3 separate regions of the Homo sapiens genome follow, and all the other regions are linked to region 2. Evidence: promoter capture Hi-C in human tissues and cell types (Jung and others, 2019). All regions are on one chromosome and are shown on one strand. Each heading gives the region's core, a stretch centred on a gene start or on the middle of the fragment in contact. The rest is flanking DNA. Distances are from core to core; before and after follow the strand shown.

Region 1 (3,832 bases), core at 76-2,575, 150 kb after region 2:
GTTTGTGTGTTCACGTGACGATGGCGTGGTGACGTTTCCAGATCCCGTCGTTGGTTCGCTCATTCTCGGGGTGTATATTTATTGAGAGCTCATCATGCTGGGTGCTATTCCAGGCATAGCAAGACTGGCTTCACTCACATGGAGCTTTGATTCTAGTGGTGGGGACAGGTGGACAGCAAAAGAGTAAGCACGTGAGCTGATGATACTGAAGGGAAATAGAGCAGAGGGAGGAGGCGGAGACCGAGCCAAGCGGGCCCAAGTGCGATGTCGGCGGGAGGTGGGGAATGCTGGTGGGTCTGAGGGGAGCCTCAGCAGGTGCAGCAGAGCAAGGGAAGAGGTGAGTGGGGGCGGCTGGGGGGCCGACTCCTGGGAAGCTGTAGCAGAACCCCACAGAGAGCTGGTGAGGTTTGCCGTGGTTGTGGGTGACTCGGTGCTTTGAGCCCTGGCTGCCCCTGGGAACCATCTGGAGAGCTTCTAACCCAACCAGGCCCCTCCCTGGGACAGTTATATCACAGCTGGTAAGCCGAGTCTAACACTTTCACGGAAACGCAGAAGATCTAAAACAGCAAGATGACCGTGAAGAAGAACAGAGCTGGAGGACTCACCTCGCTGGTTTCAAGACTCCTCTAAAGCTGCAGGAGTGGAGGTGGAGATGGCCCAGCTCAGGCACAGGCCTGCAGGCCATGGAGAAGGCAGCAAGCTCAAGCTGACCCACACGCATGTGGTCATTGTTTTTTTTTTCAGTTGGAATCTCACTCTGTCACCCAGGTTGGAGTGCAGTGGCACCATCTCGGCTCACTGCAGCCCCCGCCCCTAGGTTCTAGCGATTCTCCCACATCAGCCTCCCGAGTAGCTGGGATTACAGGCGTGCGCCACCATGCCTGGCCCTTGGTGATTGTTTTTTGACAAACATGCCAATTTAATTGAGAGAGGAAATGAAGGTTGATTTCTGGTTTTCTGAAAAAATGGTGCTAAGAACAGCTGGATATCTGTTCGGAAAACAGTGAATCTTAACTCTTGTTTTACCCTGTATAAACCTAAATGTAAAAGCTAAACTAAAAGTTATAGAAAGGAACATGGGGGAGGTCTTTGCAACTTTGGGGTAGGCAGAGATTTCTTAGTATGGATACACAAGGCACTAGCCATGAAGAAAAACATTAAAATTTAGACTTCACCAAAATTTAAAGCTTCAACTCTGTGGAAGAGTTGAGAAAATGAAAAAGCAGTTAAAGAAAGGGAGAAAATACTTCTTTCAAAGGACTTAAAAAATTTTTTCAGCCCTCCTCTGATTTGAAAGGACCTTTGACCAGAGTATGTAAAATTCTCCCATAACTAAGCAAACAACCCACTTAACCACTGGGAAGGGATCTGGACAGACGTTTCACCAAGATGGGTGGAATGGCCAGTTAACCACTGGGAGAGCATCCGGACAGACGTTTCGCCAAGATGGGTGGAATGGCCAGTTAACCACTGGGAGAGCATCCGGACAGACGTTTCGCCAAGATGGGTGGAATGGCCAGTTAACCACTGGGAGAGCATCCGGACAGACGTTTCGCCAAGATGGGTGGAATGGCCAGTTAACCACTGGGAGAGCATCCGGACAGACGTTTCGCCAAGATGGGTGGAATGGCCAGTTAACCACTGGGAGAGCATCCGGACAGACGTTTCGCCAAGATGGGTGGAATGGCCAGTTAACCACTGGGAGAGCATCCGGACAGACGTTTCGCCAAGATGGGTGGAATGGCCAGTTAACCACTGGGAGAGCATCCGGACAGACGTTTCGCCAAGATGGGTGGAATGGCCAGTTAACCACTGGGAGAGCATCCGGACAGACGTTTCGCCAAGATGGGTGGAATGGCCAGTTAACCACTGGGAGAGCATCCGGACAGACGTTTCGCCAAGATGGGTGGAATGGCCAGTTAACCACTGGGAGAGCATCCGGACAGACGTTTCGCCAAGATGGGTGGAATGGCCAGTTAACCACTGGGAGAGCATCCGGACAGACGTTTCGCCAAGATGGGTGGAATGGCCAGTTAACCACTGGGAGAGCATCCGGACAGACGTTTCGCCAAGATGGGTGGAATGGCCAGTTAACCACTGGGAGAGCATCCGGACAGACGTTTCGCCAAGATGGGTGGAATGGCCAGTTAACCACTGGGAGAGCATCCGGACAGACGTTTCACCAAGGTGGATGGAATGACCAGTTGAGCACATGGAAAGTCGCCCAGCATCTCCAGTCATAGGAGAAGGCAGATTAAAGCCACGGGGAGCCGACACTGTGGTCCCACTGGCATGGCTGAAATTCAGAAGCCCTGAGTGTGGCATGAGGATGTGGAACAGCTGGATCTCATCCATCGCTGTGAAGTTGTGTAGCCACTCCACAAACGTGTGGCAAACAGCCGAGCCGGGAGAAGGGAAGACGTGTTCAAAGATTCATATGTGGCCAGGCTCAGTGGCTCACGCCTGTAATCCCAGAACTTTAGGGGCCAAGGCTGGGGGATCGCTTAAGCCCAGGAGTTTGAGACCAGCCTAGGCAACATAGGGAGACCCCATCTCAAAAAAAAAAAAAAAGAAAAAAGAAAAGACTTCAGTGTGCAGGTTTACCAGAGTTTTGTTTGCAGTTGCCAAAACTGGGAAGCAGCCCGCGTGAGCCCATCCACAGGTGAATGGACAGACCGTGGTACCCGAACACTAACAGCAGCCACGGGCGTGGACTGTGGTCACACAGCAGCAGGGAGCCGATGAGTCTCGGACATGCTAACCCAGAGAGGCCCATTGAGGAGGACCTACTGTTTTTTGTGTTTTTGTTTTTTGTTTTGAAATGGAGTCTCGCTCTGTGGTGCAGGCTGGAGTGCAGTGGTGTGGTCTTGGCTCACTGCAGCTTCCGCCTCTTGGGTTCAAACAGTTCTCCTGCCTCAGCCTTCCGAGTAGCTGGGACTACAGGCACCCGCCACCACACCCGGCTAATTTTTGTATTTTCAGTAGAGACGGCAGTTCGCCATGTTGGCCAGGCTGGTCCCAAACTCCTGACCTTGTCATCCACTCACTTTGGCCTCCCAAAGTGCTGAGGTTGCAGGCATGAACCACCGCACCCGGCTGGACCTACTGTTTTATTCCATTTATGTGACACTCTATTAATAGAAAAGGCAGGGGTGGGGCTGGTGGTTATATGGTGCACATAACTGCCAGAACTCAGTACACTTAAAATGAACATCTTAATGTGTGAAATTTTTTTTTTTGAGACGGGGTCTTGCTCTGTCACCCAGGCTAGAGTGCAGTGGTGCGATCTCCACTCACTGCAAGCTCTGCCTCCTGGGTTCACGCCATTCTCCTGCCTCAGCCTCCCGAGTAGCTGGGACTACAGGCGCCCGCCACCACGCCTGGCTAATTTTTTTTTTTTTTTTGTATTTTTAGTAGAGACGGGGTTTCACAGTGTTCGCCAGGCTGGTCTCGATCTCCTGACCTCGTGATCCGCCTGCCTCGGCCTCCGAAAGTGCTGGGCTTGCAGGCGTGAGCCACCATGCCCGGCCAATGTGTGAAAATTTAAAAGTACCAAAGCTGGACCCCACCCCAGATTGCTCCCATGACACTCTGTGGGTGGGACCTGGGAGTTGGGTTTTGTTTTGTTTTGTTTTGTTTTTGAGATGAAGTCTCACTCTGTCGCCTAGGCTGGAGTGCAGTGACACAATCTCGGCTCACATTAACCTCTGCCTCCCAGATGAAAGCGATTCTCCTGCCTCAGCCTTCTGAGTAGCTGGGATTACAGGCACACACCACCACCCCCTGCTAATTTTTGTATTTTTAGTAGAGACGGGGTTTTACCATGTTGGCC
Region 2 (3,841 bases), core at 533-3,032:
TGGAAGGCCGTGCTGTCAGGCGTGGTCGGCAGTCGGCCCCACGGCTCCTTCAGGGTGGGCCTGGACCACAGACACCTCACCAGGGTCTCCCGTCCCTGGGCGGCTGCATATGGGTCCAAGCAAGCCACAAAGGCTGTGCCAGCCAAGCCCAACGCAGGCCGCCCCTACAGTCCCTGCCCGGCCCTGCACCCTCCCCACCCCTTCCCAGGTGCTGATCACCAGTACTCACTCTGCACCCCAAACCCCAAACCCCGTCTCAGCGTCTGCCCCTGAGGACCCTCTGAGTGTCAACCCAACTGACCCGTCTGCCTCATCAGTGACCCCTCGGGGCTGCACACCTCTCCCATCGCAGGTCCTGGCACTGCTCTCCGGCACCGAGCTCCCCCTCCCAGGTGGGGCTCAGGCGGTTCCCTGCCCTCCGTCCTTAGACCTCAGCTGAAACCTGAGCTCTCCCCACCACCCGCCCCCGCCAGCCTCTGCACTGCTCCCCACGGGAAGGCCGTTCTCCCTTGGTTTACCGTTCCCTGCGCTTGGCTCGGCCATGTGCACATAGTAGGTGCTTACCACACTCGTGCAATGAACACACAGAGCGGTGCAGGGCCCAGGACAGCGCCTTCCCCACGTGCTCAGGGGGCACAAGGGCGTCCCTCCAAGTCTTGCTCAGGGGCCTCCCAGGGTCCCTGCCCAGCTGTGGGTCCTCACTGAGCACCCGGCGAGGACAGAGTACGGCATCCGTTGGCCTCGATCTCCGGAACAACACGGGCACACGGCCGTCCCAGCCAGCAACGAGAGCCACGAAACAAATCCACCCGGGCTGACTCCCGAAGCCCTCGGACTGTTCCGCCCCACGGACCTCCCGGACCCTCTCTTCCACGGGGAAGACACCGCCCAGCCAGGACCGGGTGTATAAAGAAACGGGATTTCCGTAGGGGCAGGCCGATTTCCCCTGCGGGGCCGAGGGAGGTGTGGGGAGGATTCTGCGCTGGGGGGAGGAGGAGAGGGAGGACGCCTTTCTGCCTGGGAAGGGAAAACGCGCCCCCTCCTGATTGGCATGGCGGGCCGTCCCCCGGGCCCCAGGGCCCTGCCGGGAACGCTCTGGGCTCCCCAAACATGGGGTCTCCGAGCAGTGGGGCCCAGCCTCTGCCTCCGGCGACTGGAGACTCACCTCACCCGCCCAAATCCGCCCCGCTCTCCGACTGGGCCCCGCCTCCCACTGCCCCGCCATCCGCCCACCCTTTCACCGCCCCCTGCGGGCAGCAGGCGCGTCCTGGGGCTGGGCAACCGGGGTGCAGGTTCCGGAGCTGCCAGAGCTGTGAGGGGGACTCGGGAGAGATCCAGGTTCCTCTGGCTGCGAAGTCCCTGGAGGCCGGGCCGGAGGGCTCCGCGCACGTAGCACTTTTTGGCCCGCCCGGCGCCCCCGTCGCCTCCACAAGGGCTGAAGAGGACGGGCGGGCTGGACCAGGCGGGGCTCCGAGACGCGTCCGAGACGGGGGCCTGGGCCCGGGAGAGGGGCGGGGGCTGGGCTCCCGGACCCGGGCGCGGGGCCTTTTAACCCCTGCAGACCCAGGACCGGCCGGGCCGCCCCAAGACGAACGCCGCAGGGCTGGGCTCAGCCCAAGCCAGACGGCGAGAGTCGCACCGAGGTGGAAGCTGGGGGCGCGGCCTCGCCGGGGCCAGGAAAGGGGCGGGGCCGGGTGGGGCCCGGGGAGGAGCCTGTGCGCCCCGCCCTCCGTGACGCGCCGCGGCCCCCGCGCATATAAGTGGGCGCGTCCGCGCGTGCGCACCCCGCGCGCGCCTCTCTGTCGTGGCGCGGCTTCCCGCGGTCTTCTCTGCAAATGGGCTCCGTGGCCTAGCGCCCCCGTCCCCGCCACCCGTGATCGTGCGCCGAGGCCCGCGAGGGGTCGCCGCCCAGGTGAGGGGCGCCGCGCGCGGGTGGGACGAGCAGGCCCGAGGGGCGGGGGGCGAGGGGCGGGGCTGGGCCGGGGGCTCCTCTCCTCTCCGCCTGGCGAGCGCTGGGCTCGGGGTCCCCGGCGGGCTCCTCTCGGGTCGGGCGGGTTGGGACGGCGCCCACCAGGTTCCCGACGTCTGGGCCGGGGCCCCGCGCACAAAGCGCCTTTGTTCCACCCGCTCGGCCGGTTTGGGCTGGTTGGAGCCGCCCGCGCCCCGCGCGGCGAAGGCGGTGCCGGGAGCTGGGGAGCCCCGCCTCGGTAAATAACCCAGCGCGGCGGCTCCACCCGCTGGGGAGCGCCCTTCATGACGGAAGGCCGCTGACCCGAGGGGCTCCTCCACCCCCATGCGCAGATCCCACCAGCCAGCAAGCTAAAGCATGGCGGCCATCCCCTCCAGCGGCTCGCTCGTGGCCACCCACGACTACTACCGGCGTGAGTAGCCCCTGCCCCCCATCCACGCGGATGCTCTGCTGGCGCCAGTGCCGGCCCCGTGCAGGCTGCGGAACCAGCGCTCGGCCTGAAGGCCGGTGGGCTGGGGGGCTCCGCGCCCCGCGTTGCTGACGGGACCTCTCCTCTCCAGGCCGCCTGGGTTCCACTTCCAGCAACAGCTCCTGCAGCAGTACCGAGTGCCCCGGGGAAGCCATTCCCCACCCCCCAGGTGAGTGCAGGATCGCCCCTTTCTCCCCCCGCTCCTCCAGGAGCTGGCAGCATCAAGACCCCACTTCGCTTCTCTCAGGTCTCCCCAAGGCTGACCCGGGTCATTGGTGGGCCAGCTTCTTTTTCGGGAAGTCCACCCTCCCGTTCATGGCCACGGTGTTGGAGTCCGCAGAGCACTCGGAACCTCCCCAGGCCTCCAGCAGCATGACCGCCTGTGGCCTGGCTCGGGACGCCCCGAGGAAGCAGCCCGGCGGTCAGTCCAGCACAGCCAGCGCTGGGCCCCCGTCCTGACCTGAGCGGTTACCACCAGCCCCAGGCCTGCGGAGGCGCTAGTCCACCAGAGCCCCTCCCCGCCCCTCTCCCCACTCCGCATCCCTCGCCCCCCTCCCCACCTCCCACCCCCCACCCTGTAAACTAGGCGGCTGCAGCAAGCAGACCTTCGCATCAACACAGCAGACACCAAAAACCAGTGAGAGCCCCGCTCTCTACCGCCCGGCCCCAGCACTCGCTAGCTTTCCTGACACCTGGAACTGTGCACCTGGCACCAAGCGGAAAATAAACTCCAAGCAGCCAGTAGCCCCGATGGTGTGTGCCTGAGCTGTGTGGCCCGAGGTTCCATTTGAGTGTGAGAAATGGCTGAATCCCTCCCGACCTCACTGCCTTGTGGGGGCTGGCCCTGCTCCCAGGCCTTTCTGGGCCTCCTCACGCTGTGAGGCTGTTGCTGGGGCTGATAAGGGTGGGGTTCACTGCTGCTTCTGGAGAGCCTTGGACAGCAGGCAGTCCTGGAGCTGGACAAGCAGGACCCAGGGCAGCCACTGAGGTGGGCCCCCGTGCCACCTTTAGCGGGGGGAAAGGGAGCAGGGAGGGCTGGTCCTCTGAGGGATTCAGGCCCCTTACCCGAGGGCCTGCGGGGCGGGGAGTAGCCTCTGGCTGTGAGCTGGGAAGCCCTCACTCTGGAGGGACCTGGTTCCTGCTGGTAGGTGTCTCCCAAGGGCCTCCCATAGGGGTGTTGCCCCAAGACAGGCTGAGGGGTAGGGGCTGCAGGCACCGTGGAGGGGTCTTCCTGCCACAGGCAGCCCAGCTTAAAGTGAGGGTGGCTGCATCATTCTGGCCTGGTATAGGCATGGAGTGTTGGAGTCCGGGAGTGCTGCAGGCTGGCAGGGATGGGGGTCCACACACAGGAGTGCATGGGCTGTGAGCTTAGTAGACTCCTTCATAACCAAGGTGGGTGGTGT
Region 3 (4,022 bases), core at 1,416-3,915, 260 kb after region 2:
ACCGTGTTTGATATTTTAGAAACGCTATTTTGTTTGAATTCACAACAGCTGTGTAAGTGGCACCCCCCGCCCCCCCCCCCCCCCCCAGTTTTTCAGATGTGGGAAGTGAGGCCTCAGGATGTCTGTGACAGCCCAGCACCCACAGCTTGTCCCGTCTGTGCAGTGCTCAGCCCTGAGCCTCACTTTCAGGGCCAAGACCCTTCGACGGACACGGCTCCTCACTGAGTACACGGAATAAAGGGAAGGTGAACACCACTTTCCACATGTAGTCTTTATTACCCACAAACAGTTGGCATCAGTGCTCACACCAACGCGAAAATTCGAAAGAATATTTTAGTGCTTATGAAAACAAAGTTGTAAAAATATTGTTTTTTAGAGCAGCGTAAAGAAACAGAGAAACAGATATACTTCCCAAATCCCAGCATCAAGGACAGCTGGCACGTTTCCTTCCTTCACTTCCCTCAATACTCAGCAAACAATGTGTCCACACCACTCAGCACGCCTGGACCCCAGCCGCGGAGGTGGGGGCATCTCATGCCGGACTCGCTCCCTCCTCCCCTGGAGAGAAACGGGAGGCGCCTCACTCACTCTCAGCCGCATGCTGAGTGCCAGCTATGTGCTAGGTGCCAGCACCAGGCCTTGCCCGGGGGCCCACATGAGCGCGAGACCAGAAGGCAGCTGGCTGGGGGCTGGCTGCGGTGGGTTTTTTTTGTTTTTTTTTTTGTTTTTTTTTTTGAGACAGAGTCTCCCTCTGTCGCCCCGGCTGGAGTGCAGTGGCGCGATCTCGGCTCACTGCAAGCTCTGCCTGCCGGGTTCACGCCATTCTCCTGCCTCAGTCTCCCGAGTAGCTGGGACTACAGGCGCCCGCCACCACGCCCGGCTAATTTTTTGTATTTTTAGTAGAGACGGGGTTTCACCGTGTTGGCCAAGATGGTCTCGATCTCCTGACCTCGTGGTCTGCCCGCCTCAGCCTCCCAAAGTGCTGGGATTGCAGGCGTGAGCCACCGCGCCCGGCCCCTTTGTTTTTTTAAACTCCGAAAGCTGAATGCCCCCGTCTTGTCAGGAAGTCAGTCAGTCTGGGGTGAGCCCGACACGCAGCAGTGGCTGAACTTTTGGCCACATCTCGGCAGGCGCGTCGTCGTTTGGATTCAGCTGGGGACATTTACGTTTTAAAGACAACCTCCGACGCATCTTTAAAAGTCACACGCCACCAGCATCATCCAGCGAAGGCAACGCAAGGCGAGGCCCCCAAGTGCAATCGGCTCGCAGCGGCCGCCCCCATCTCCCTTGCGCGAAACGAGCCTCAGCACGAAGGCGACAGAGGGGCCGGCAGGGGGCGCCCGAGCCCGTCTCTGGAGCACAAAGACCCCCGGCCCCTGCGCGACCCGGACGAGCTCGCATTCAGCCAACGACTCCTGTGAGAAACATTCCAGCAAGCACTCGGCTGCTCCCCTGCCCGCCGCGCTCACAACCGCGTCCATTCCCTCCTCACTCTAAAGCCAGCCCCCCGTGCACCTGAGAGGCCAGTCCAGGCTGTGACGCCGCATCCTCACCTCCCGCAACAGGGAGGTCAGCAGGCGGCCGAGCAGCAGGGACAGACCCTCAGCCTCATCTCATCTTGGCCCGGGACCTGCAACCCTCAGCCTTCAAAACCACACCAAAGCCAAGCGGCCCCCAGGGCCTGCACTTACGGGACAGCGAGTGGGCCCCTCTGGGCAGGTACTCGAACAGCAGGGAGCCGTCATCCCCCAGCACGTCGGCCTTCAGCGACAGCAGGCTGTTCTTACTCATGAGCGCCGCGCGCAGGTTGGCCACCGCGGTGGCCTGATGCAGGGCGTCGTCCTTCTCTGGGGTGAGGGGAGGGCCCAGATAGCTGGCTTCTCCTCCCAGGAGACCCTCCTCCACCTGTGCATAGAGCTCGGCCCTCTCTCCTCGGCTGTCGGAGCTGCTGGCTTCGGTGACGGACAGGTCCGCATCTGGGGACAGAGGGACACACGTCAGAAGACACGGGTCGTTCCCAGACTCTCCAAGTGGGACAGGCGACACATTTAGAAGGACAGCGACCAGCTTCTGCCTGAGCTACAGAGCAGCATCAAGTCCAGCCCACCCTGGGAGCCGGGCACCTGCCCCAGCAATGCAGCAGCCTCGGCCCAGCCCGGCCTTTCCTGCCCACCCAGGTCCCATGGCTGCGGTGGAGTCTCAGCCAAGGCTTTGGAGGACGGCTCAACTCAGAACAACGGGGTTGCCCTCCCTGGACGAGGCGCTGCAGACCTGGTACCTGCTCTGCTCCAGGGCCGAGGGCCTGAGAGTCAGAGGCTCCTGGGGCGGCAGTATTTCCATCTCGCAAAGACGAGGAGAGGCTCAAAATGGATCAATGACGTTAGAGCTAAATCTATAAAATTCTTAGAAGAAAATCCGCATGATCTCAGATTTGGCAATAGGTTCTTAGATACAAAACCAAGCACAAGCAACAAAATAAATTGGACTCATCAAAATTAAATGTCTGTGCTTCAAAGGATACTACCAAGAAAGTGACGCCGGGTGCGGTGGCTCAAGCCTGTGATCCCAGCACTCTGGGAGGCCGAGGCGGGCGGATCATCTGAGGTCAGGAGTTCAAGGCCAGCCTGGCCAACATGGTGAAACCCCATCTCTACTAAAAATACAAAAATTAGCCGGGCGTGGTGGCACGTGCCTGTAATCCCAGCTACTCAGTAGGCTGCGGCAGGAGAATCGCTTGAACCCAGGAGGTGGAGGTTGCAATGAGCCGAGATCACACCACTGCACTCTAGCCTGGGCGACAGAACAACGCTCTGTCTCAAAAAAAAAAAAAAATTGCAACCTATATATCTGATAATAAAAAGGCAAATACTGTAACTCAATATAAAAATGGGCAAAAAATCTTACTAGACATTTGTCCAAAGAAGATGTATAAATGGCCAAGACGCACAGGAAGAGATGCTCAGCATCACCCATCACTAAGGAAACGCAAAACACAACACGATTCCACCACACAATACGGTTCCAGCACACGCCACGGTTCCACCACACGCCACGGTTCCACCACACGCCACGGTTCCAGCACACGCCACGGTTCCACCACACGCCACGGTTCCAGCACACGCCACGGTTCCACCACACGCCACGGTTCCAGCACACGCCACGGTTCCAGCACACACCCACTGGGATGGCTGGATATAAAAAGGCCAGGCACCGTGGCTCACGCTTCCAGTCCCAACATTTTGGGAGGCTAAGACCGGAAGATCTATTGAGAACAGGAGTTCAAGACCAGCCTGGGCAACACAGCAGGACAAAAAGTTAAAATAAAACAAAATTAGCTGAGTGTGGTGGGTTGTGCCTGTGGTCCTAGCTACTCAGGAGGCTGCGGCGGGAGGATCACTTGAGCCTGAGAGGTTGAGGCTGTGGTGAGCTGTGATCGAGCCACTGTACTCCAGTCTGGGTGACAGAGTGAGACCCTATCTCAAAAACAACAACAAAAAAGATCAGATAATATTGGCAAGGATGGGAAGAAATCAGAACCCTGGAACCTTGCTGGTAAGAGTGTAACATGGTGCCCTCCTGCGGAGCAGGTCGGCAGGTCCTCACAACATCAGGTACAGGAATCACCACGGGGCCCAGCAGTTCCACATGTACGCATGCAGATACCCACGAGAAATGAAGACACAAAAGCTCACAGAAAACCTCGTCCAGGACGCGCGTAGCACGTTATCCATAACAGCCAAAAGGTGGAACAGCCAACAAGTCCATCGATGGACGAATGGATAAACATAACAGGTCCATCCCCACAATGGAATATTATGTGGCCATGAAAAGGCATGAAGAACAGACACAGGCCACCACACAGAGGAGCCGTGAAAACATGCTCAGCGGACGAAGCCAGACACAGAACCACGCAGAGGAGCCTTGAAAACTGCTGAGTGAACAAAGCCAGACACAGAAGGCCACATGCCATTTCATTTCCATTAAATATCCAGAACAGGCAAATCAAGACAGAAAGTAGGTTT

What was found. The method cuts DNA at HindIII sites, captures the fragments that hold promoters and counts their contacts. A contact is called where the count stands out against the background at its distance.
Region 1: a contact is called between a fragment that was not itself captured here and the fragment with the promoter of PPDPF in region 2, in 1 of the 25 tissues and cell types used here (pancreas).
Region 3: a contact is called between a fragment that was not itself captured here and the fragment with the promoter of PPDPF in region 2, in 1 of the 25 tissues and cell types used here (spleen).

The regions. Positions count from the first base shown.
Region 1 is chr20:63,668,261-63,672,092 of GRCh38, forward strand. The region is part of intron 8 of RTEL1 (regulator of telomere elongation helicase 1); the gene reads left to right. The region is part of intron 8 of RTEL1-TNFRSF6B (RTEL1-TNFRSF6B readthrough (NMD candidate)); the gene reads left to right. It overlaps LOC124904954 (a long non-coding RNA gene), which reads right to left. Exons shown (of 2, transcript XR_007067717.1): 2 at 3,096-3,832. Among named protein-coding and RNA genes, the nearest start is that of RTEL1, 12 kb to the left of the region's middle. The HindIII fragment of the contact is 4,863 bases long and covers 1-3,757 here.
Region 2 is chr20:63,518,983-63,522,823 of GRCh38, forward strand. PPDPF (pancreatic progenitor cell differentiation and proliferation factor) reads left to right here and starts at 1,783. Exons shown (of 4, transcript NM_024299.4): 1 at 1,783-1,912; 2 at 2,302-2,381; 3 at 2,530-2,607; 4 at 2,686-3,224. The coding sequence starts at 2,327. The coding sequence ends at 2,897. It overlaps LOC102723814 (a long non-coding RNA gene), which reads right to left and starts at 1,691. Exons shown (of 2, transcript XR_430332.4): 1 at 1-1,691. RefSeq lists enhancers at 1-39, 40-916, 917-1,793 and silencers at 1,066-1,315, 1,376-1,925, 2,036-2,235. The HindIII fragment of the contact is 19,807 bases long and covers 1-3,841 here.
Region 3 is chr20:63,773,987-63,778,008 of GRCh38, forward strand. It overlaps ZBTB46 (zinc finger and BTB domain containing 46), which reads right to left. Exons shown (of 5, transcript NM_001369741.1): 3 at 1,692-1,976. Among named protein-coding and RNA genes, the nearest start is that of ZBTB46-AS1, 32 kb to the right of the region's middle. RefSeq lists an enhancer at 3,934-4,022. The HindIII fragment of the contact is 8,553 bases long and covers 1-4,022 here.